3 separate regions of the Homo sapiens genome follow, and all the other regions are linked to region 2. The links are contacts of gene promoters, found by promoter capture Hi-C in human tissues and cell types (Jung and others, 2019). All regions are on one chromosome and are shown on one strand. Each heading gives the region's core, a stretch centred on a gene start or on the middle of the fragment in contact. The rest is flanking DNA. Distances are from core to core; before and after follow the strand shown.

Evidence for each region. Contacts are between HindIII fragments. The study calls those that stand out against the background at their distance.
Region 1: a contact is called between a fragment that was not itself captured here and the fragment with the promoter of TPK1 in region 2, in 1 of the 25 tissues and cell types used here (mesendoderm cells).
Region 3: a contact is called between a fragment that was not itself captured here and the fragment with the promoter of TPK1 in region 2, in 1 of the 25 tissues and cell types used here (mesendoderm cells).

The regions. Positions count from the first base shown.
Region 1 is chr7:144,869,511-144,872,213 of GRCh38, reverse strand. No RefSeq gene overlaps it. Among named protein-coding and RNA genes, the nearest start is that of TPK1, 35 kb to the right of the region's middle. The HindIII fragment of the contact is 3,133 bases long and covers 1-2,703 here.
Region 2 is chr7:144,834,803-144,837,742 of GRCh38, reverse strand. It overlaps TPK1 (thiamin pyrophosphokinase 1), which reads left to right and starts at 1,690. Exons shown (of 9, transcript NM_022445.4): 1 at 1,690-1,776; 2 at 2,125-2,183. The coding sequence starts at 2,141. RefSeq lists an enhancer at 1,480-1,549 and a silencer at 1,850-1,949. The HindIII fragment of the contact is 4,228 bases long and covers 1-2,072 here.
Region 3 is chr7:144,897,695-144,900,514 of GRCh38, reverse strand. No RefSeq gene overlaps it. Among named protein-coding and RNA genes, the nearest start is that of TPK1, 63 kb to the right of the region's middle. The HindIII fragment of the contact is 4,489 bases long and covers 1-2,820 here.

The DNA of each region.
Region 1 (2,703 bases), core at 16-2,515, 35 kb before region 2:
GTCAATGTGTGAAATTTCCCCCGTACAGAGGTTAAGAGCACTGGCTTTAAAGTCAGGCAGCCTGGAATGTACTAATTATAAGGCTTAAGGCAAGTCGCTACCTCCTGAAGCTTAGCTCCTCATCTGTGAGATAGGGACAGTAATAGTTTCCACTTCAACAGATTGTTGTGAAAATTAAATAAGCAAATGAAATAAGTACCATCCTCAGCACTCAATAAATTACTTACTACCACTATTATTATTATTGTTATTATCTTCAAACCAGATTTGTAGAATGGGGTAAAACCGTGCCCTGAAATAATCAATCACTAGAAATATAAATAAACAATAACAATCACTAGCCATGCATTATGAATATCAGAAAATCTTGTAGAAAACTCAGAATCAGATGCAAAGCACTAAGGCAAGCTTGTCTGTGTGATTGTGAGATAGGCAGGGATGTCTGTGTGTGTGAATGTGTGTGCGTGTGTGCACATGTGTGTATACATGCGTGAGAGAGTGAGAATGTGATGGGGGAAAGCCACAAATAAATAATAGTTGCCACATTGCATTTCATTATGCACCTTATAAAATACAATCAATGGCTTTCCTGAATGTTATGGACTGAATTGTTTCACCCCAAAATTTATATGTGAAGCCCTAACCTTCAATGTTACTGAGTTTGGATACGGGGTCTTTAAGGAAGAGGTTAAGGTAAAATGAGGTCATAAGGCTGGGCCCCTAATTCAGTAGGACTGGAGTCTTTATAAAAAGAGAAAGAAGGCTGGGTGCAGTGGCTCATGCCTGTAATCCCAGAAATTTGGGAGGCCACAGCTGGCGGATCACCTGAGGTAGGGAGTTTGAGACCAGCCTGACCAACATGGAGAAACCCTATCTCTACTAAAAATATAAAATTAGCTGGGCATAGTGGCACACGCCTGTAATCCCAGCTACTCAGGAGGCTGAGGCAGGAGAATTGCTTGAACCTGGGAGACAGAGGCTGCAGTGAGCCGAGATCATGCCATTGCACTCCAGCCTGGGCAACAAGAGCAAAACTCTGTCTCAAAAAAAAAAAAAAAAGAAAAAGAAAGAAAAGAAAACAAAAAAAGAAAAGAAAAGAAAGAAGGCTGGGTGTGGTGGCCTGCAATCTCAGTGCTTTGGGAGGCTGAGGTGGGAGGATTGCTTGAGCCCAGAAGTTGGAGGCTGCATTGAGCTCTGATCGTGCGACTGCACTCCAGCCTGGGTAACAGAGTCAGACCCTGATTCAAAAAAAAAAAAAAAAAGAAGAAGAAAGAAAGAAGGAGAAGAGAAAGAAACACTGAGAGCATGGGAGGACACAGCCAAGAAGACAGCCATCTTCAATCCAAAGATAGAGGCTTCACCAGGATTCAACCCTGCCAGGCTCATACTCTTGAATGTCTAGCCTCTAAGAGCCATGAGAAAATAAATATCTGGCTGGGCACAGTGGCTCATGCCTGTAATCCTAGCACTTTGGGAGGCTGAGACGGGTGGATCACCTGAGGTCAGGAGTTCGAGACCAGCCTGACCAACATGGTGAAACACCATCTCTACTAAATATAAATAATTAGCCCAGCATGGTGGCACATGCCTGTAATCCCAGCTACTTGGGAGGCTGAGGCAGGAGAATCGCTTGAACCCGGGAGGCAGAGGTTGCTAAGCCACTCAGTCTGTGATGGTCCTAGCAGGCTACTACAGTACACTGGATAATGATCATCTTAGCCAAGCATGCCTAAAGTTCCAGCTACTTGGAAGGCTGAGGTGGGAGGATTCCTTGAGCCCAGGAGTTGGTGTCCAACCTGGGCAACACAGCAAGATCCCATCTCTTAAAAAAAAATGTAGTAGTCTTTTGTTTCTCATAAAAATGTCTACCTCTCTGAAAGCAGGTGTTTGAGAACCACAGTCTGATCCTTTTTTCTTGGTGGACCTCACCTCTTCCTGTACATACCCAAGCCTTCTTCCTACTCAGGGGCAAGGGGGAAGGCCCCACTTAATGTTCTTGTCAGTCTTTGTCTAGAGAGCAAATATTAATGGCAAATACTCTTTATCTGTTATATGTTTTTTCTAAAGTCACATGAATAGCAAATAGGAAGGCCTGATTCAAATACAAAGATGTCCAAATCTGATGACTATACCCCCCGCCCCCGCTTTTTTTTTTTTTTTTTTTTTTTGAGATGGAGTTTCACTCTTGTTGCCCAGGCTGGAGTGCAATGGCTCGATCTTAGCTCACTGCAACCTCCGCCTCCTGGGTTCAAGTGATCTTCCTACCTCAGCCTCCTGAGTAGCTGGGATTACAGGCACCTGCCAACACGCCCAGCTAATTTTTTGTATTTTTAGTAGAGATGGGGTTTCACCGTGTTGGCCAGGCTGGTCTCGAACTCCTGACCTCAGGTGATCCACCCACCTCAGCCTCCCAAAGTTCTGGGATTACAGGTGTGAGCCACCGTGCCCGGCCCTATATCCTTTCTGTTAAAACACAGCTTTCTCCCACAGTTTCACCAACCTGGCACATGGGAGACAGTCATAAAGCTTGGCTGAATGCATGACTAAAGATTAAGCAACACAGCAACTTGTATTATGCATATTAGGTAATTTAAAATATATATACCTATATTAGTTTATGGTGCTTTACTTTGGACAGGAGGAAAGATAAAACTAAAAAATTATTAGAGGATAAATTTGCATAAAGTAGCTGAAAAAATTAAA
Region 2 (2,940 bases), core at 441-2,940:
GACTGGAACATAATAATTGATCAGTAAGTGTAAATTTTTATTACTGCTTAAAAAATTGGTTACAATCTGCCATTGAATTCATTGTTCAAGATTTCGTTCTGAATATTGGTGATGTGTTTTTGCCATTTGACTACCTTCTATAATTTGCCTTGCCTGTTTATATCCTTGGTCATAATTTTTCTGGTTTGCCTTTTACTAATGGACATGTAGTTCTGAGGCAGAATAGGGTCTGGAGGCAGGGAATGTTAAGGCCGATTCATGCTGACTTCCTGGAACTAAATCAAATTGCAGTACTTCAGCAATGACAGGAAACATCCTCTCCATTTACACAGGGCTTATATCCAGTAAATGACTTTAAAATTTACTTCATCCTCTTCATTTACATAGGGCATAAGCCAAGTAACCAATGGAAACCTCTAGCTGGCATTTAAACCCCAGAACATTCTCTAACGGCACTCTTGAGCCCCTATCCTCGGGCGCTCCCAACCTATGGGGTGTACTTTCATCTTCAATAAATCTCTGTTTTTGCTTCATTCTTTCCTTGCTTTGTGCGTTTTGTCCAATTCTTTGTTCAAGACGCCAAGAACCTGGACACATCAACTGGTAACAGCTCTTCATAGGATAAACACATGGCAACCACTTGTCTATTACATGTGCAGATAGTTTCCTTGTACCCCAATTGTCTTTTAGGTTCATTAAGGTCATATTTAAACATGGACTTTTGAAATTTGTTGTAGCTAAACCCGTATATAAGCATTTAGGCTTCCTCCTTCTTTGGGTCTTTTCTTGTGGACTCCCATGCACATAGCTGTAAGCTTTTCCCCTGTTAAACTGTCTTAAGTCAATTTAACCTCTTAGGCCCAGGTGGAAACCTTAAGAGGGTAGAGGGAGATTAGGTTCGCTCACTATTGGAAAAGCCTGTATTGCAACAGTGACGCTCTGCAGCTGCAGATAGGTGGCTTAAAGTTTCTTCCAACAAAAACATTCTGTTTCCACAAAGCAAAGTAAGGAAAGCTCTTAACGGAGTGTTCCCTAAAGAAAGCTTTTTTTTTTTCTTTGAGATGGAGTCTCGCTTTGTCGCCCAGACTGGAGTGCACTGGTGTGATCTTGGCTCACTGCAACCTCCGGCCTCCCGGGTTCAAGCGATTCTCCTGCCTCGGCCTCCCGAGTAGCTGGGCCTACAGGCGCGCGCCACCATGCCCGGCTAATTTTTTGTATTTTTAGTAGAGACGAGGTTTCACCATGCTGGCCAGGCTGGTCTCGAACTTCTGACCTCATGATCCGTCCGCCTCGGCCTCCCAAACTGCTGGGATTACAGGCGTGAGTCACCGCACCCGGCCAGGAAGGAAAGCTTTTAACCCGACGGCTCAGGGAGGACACCGGTAGCAGGACTAGAAGCAGCACAGTGGAAAGTAAGTTTGGCTTGGAAGCTAGGTCAAGCATGGGTGATAGGGAATTCGCCACTTAGTTTGAAGCAAATGGCCTCCTTGTTAAAGCTGAGTGCAGAGGGCCCGGCAGCAGTACTACAGCTAGCAGAACCAGCCCAGAAAACGAAGCCTTGGAGACTTGAGGTGGGTAGTGCCGGACGCAGAGCACAGGGCGCGGCTCCCACTTGCCTCCGGCTCCCGGAAGCGGGCGGGGCCACCTCGCGTCCCGGGGGCTAAAACCTGCGAGCGAGGACCGCGCGCCAAGGCTCCTCAGCCGAGCGCCGAGCGGTCGATCGCCGTAGCTCCCGCAGCCTGCGATCTCCAGTCTGTGGCTCCTACCAGCCATTGTGTAAGTGCGACTGCTGCCGGGCGCGCGGGCCGCGGAAGGGGGCGGCCGCCTCTCGCTCCCCAGGTTCCCGGATGGTGATGGGTTCGCGGAGAGAGGCGGCAGGGGCAACCCCTCGGACCTCATAGCGGCCCGCGCGGCCGGTCTCCGGGGGCCCCCGCCCGCGGCGGTGCTGTAGGCGAGCCGTGGCGGGTCCCCAGCGCCGGGTGCTGCGCCGCAGCTCAGCTGGCTCCTGGGTCCCGGAGCGCGCCGCTGCCGAGTGCCAGGTTCAGGCGGCTCCCGTGCTGTTGGTTCTGCGCGATGTTTAATTAAAACTGAGAGTCTAACTTCACTTTTTTTTTTTTAATGCAGAGGCCAATAATCCGTTATGGAGCATGCCTTTACCCCGTTGGAGCCCCTGCTTTCCACTGGTACTGTATTTCTTTCCACGGTTTAGTGTCACTGACGTGCCCCTCCCCAGCGACGGGAACAGGTCGAAAGGACGGGGCTCTAGAGCCAGCGTGACTTCCAGCCTGGGTTCTGTCCCTGATTTCCTAGCTCTGTACCGCTAAGCATATCAGCCTCTCGCCGGTCTCATTTTCCTCATCTGAAAAATGAGCTTACGTATCAGTCCTTGCTGTGAGGACGAAATGACAAGATACAGTGTGTGTAGTCCGTGTGGAGCCCAGTAAGCGCTTCCCGGCTGTTGCGCCTCCACCAACAGCGCGAACAAATCTGGAACATAGCGGAACATTAGACATTGCAGGCATTAAGGACGGTCATCGTTGCCTGACCGTGATGCATTTTTAATCCATTGAAAGTGCCCCGAGCTTATCTAATAAAAGATTGGCAAATGATTATATCAAGTGTTTTAAATCTATATAACACTCAGGATATTTTATTCTTCTAAGATTTGAAATTACTGTGTAACCGAGTTCAGGCTGGGCTGCTCGCTGCTTGCAGAGCCAATCAACAAGGACGAAGGGCCCGGAAAGGAAAGTGACTACTTTCCAAAGCTAGCAATGGGGAAGTAGTCCAAGCTTCTGCCTTAACGAAACCATTTCAAATTTGGACAAAATGTAAGAGCTTATAAAGGGGCGCTTGGTATTGGGGCTCGGGGGCCCCAGTCTACGTGACTTGCTCAGATATTTATCTTGGGTTTTTGCCTCATCTGGTGAATGGGCTGGC
Region 3 (2,820 bases), core at 26-2,525, 63 kb before region 2:
AGATAACAAGCATTGGCAAGGATGGGGAGAAAAGGGAACACTTGTACACCCCCAGCCTTCCGAATATATATATGTATGTACAGACATTATAGAAAACAGTATGGAGTTTTCTCAAAAAATAAAAACAAACAAAACTATCATATGATCCAGGAGTCCCACTTCTGGATATATATCCAAAACAATAAAATCAGTATGTCAAAGAGACAGCTGCACTCTCATGTCCATTGCAGCATTATTCACAACAACCAAGATATGGAAACAACCTAAGTGTTCATTATAGCTGGATAAAGAAAACATGATATGTATATATATACATGCACAATGGATACTATACAGCCTTAAAAAAGAACATTCTGTCATTTACGACAACATGAATGGACCTGAAGGACGTCATGCTAGAAAAAAAAAATAATAAGCCAAGCACAGAAAGATAAATACTGCATTATCTCATTTATATAATGTAAAAAAGTTGAATTCAGAAACAGAAAGCAGAGTGGTGGTTTTCAGGGGATAAAGGTTGCAGGAAATAGGGAGATGTTGGTCAAAGTCTGCAAAGTTCAGTTATGCAGGATGAATAGGTTCTGGAGATCTAACGTACAACACAGTAACTGTAGTTAATAATACTGGATTGCAACTTACCCATGGTAACAGAAAAAAAAAATACTGTATTTGTATTAGTCTGTTCTCATGCTGCTAATAAAGACATACTCAAGACTGGGTATTTTATAAAGGAAAGAGGTTTAATGGACTCACAGTTCCACATGACTGGGGAGGTCTTACAATCATGGTGGAAGGCAAAGGAAGAGCAAAGGCACGTCTAACATGGCAGCAGGCAAGAGGGCATGTGCAGAGGAACTCCCCATAAAACCATCAGATCTCCTGAGACTTACTATCATGAGAACAGCACAGGAAAAACCCATCCCCATGATTCAATTACTTCCCACTAGTTCCCTCCCACCACATGTGAGGATTATTACAATTCAAGGTGAGATTTGGGGGTCAATATAGCCAAGCCATATCAGTATTACATACTTTAAGCTGTTAAGAAAGTAGATCTTAAATGTACTCAACACACACATATACACACACGTACAATGTTAACTATGAATTTCCAAATTTTTTTCCTTGGGGAAACTGCTACCTCCTCCTATTGAAAGAAATCTCTTCCTATGGATCCTTCTTCCCTTCACCCAATACCATGCCCAAGTGTGAATCAAGCAGGCTTAAGAGGCTCCTGGGAATGCTTCAGCCAGTAGACAATAACACCCATCATAACATTGATCTTTATTTTCTAGAGACAGGGTGTTTCTCTGTGTCCTAGGGTGGAATGTAGTGATGTGATCATAGCTCACTGCAACCTTGAACTCCTGGGCTCAAAAATGATCCTCTGCCTCTTGGGTAGCTGGGACTGCAGGTGCACACCACCACACCTGGCTAATATTTTTATTATTTTTTGTAGAGGCAGGGCCTTGCTATGTTGCCCAAGTCGATCTTGAGTTTCTGGCCTCAAATGATTCTCCTTGCCTCCACCTTTCAAAGTGCTAGGATTACAGGCATGAGCCCCCAAGTACAGCCTTCATCACGTTGATCTTTAAACAGAAGAAAGTGGGCTCCAGTGCTATTGTAAAGTGGGATCATGATTCTCCAGTCTGAGCTTCCTTTCGATATTATTTGCCAGTGAGACCTTCAGGCCTCAGAACTCCGAATGACATCAAATAGTTCTTAAGCACAGCTACTTAAAACTCTCATTAACCATTTTCAGACTACATAGTCCTATCTGATATTGAGAAAGAAAGAATTTTCTCAATTAACATCAGATTGCCCTATCCTCTGAGCCAAATGGTTTCTTTTATCCTGGAAAAGCATCATTTTCTTTTCTTTTGCTTGATGTTTGTATTTTAATTGCTCTGACCTAATAGCCTATTTTAATTATTAAGAAGAGAACACAAATATTTGTCTTAGTAGTTGTTTTCTAAGCTTTTGAAAAAAGCTCTACAAAGGAACTTTGTGATGAGGGGGATAAAAGGTCGAGGCTTTGCTGCTCATTCCATATGCCACACTAATAATATCATCTTTCAAATCTACGTAGCTCCTTATGAAGAGCTTTCCCTTGAGTTTTCCAAATCTGAGACACAGATTTTTATTTCATCTCAAAGATGATAAAACTGAGGAGTGGACCAATTAAGAAATATGCCAAAAGGCTGGGCATGGTGCCTCATGCCTGTAATCCCAACACTTTGGGAGGCCGAGACGGGTGGATTACATGAGGTCAGGAGTTCGAGACCTGCCTAGCCAACATGGTGAAACCCTACCTCTACTAAAAATACAAAAAACTTAGCCGGGCGTTGTGGCAGGCACCTGTAATCCCAGCTACTCTGGAAGCTGAGGCAGGAGAATCACTTGAATCCAGGAGGCGAAGGTTGCAATGAGCTGAAATCGTGCCACTGCACTCCAGCCTGGGCAACAAGAGTGAAACTGTCTTTAAAAAAAAAAAAAAAAAAAAAAGCAAGAGAAAAGAAATTTGCCAAAAAAAAAACCAAAATAGAAATATTACAATGCAAATACCAAATTAAGTCTTCTTTCTATGGGGGTCTAAAATGTTTTCCACGGTAGTCCTTTATCTCAGTTTTATTCACTTTTTCTGTACTAATCTAGTCCCTTTTAGAGGGTATGTTCCAAAAGAACAGAACTGTGTCTAACCAGTTTTACACAGCATCTTACGCACATAGCTACTTAAATTAACATAATTCAAGAGATATTTATGAAGCTTCTACTATGTAAAAAGTACTGTATTTAGGCATTCTCTCCAGGCCTTTGGGA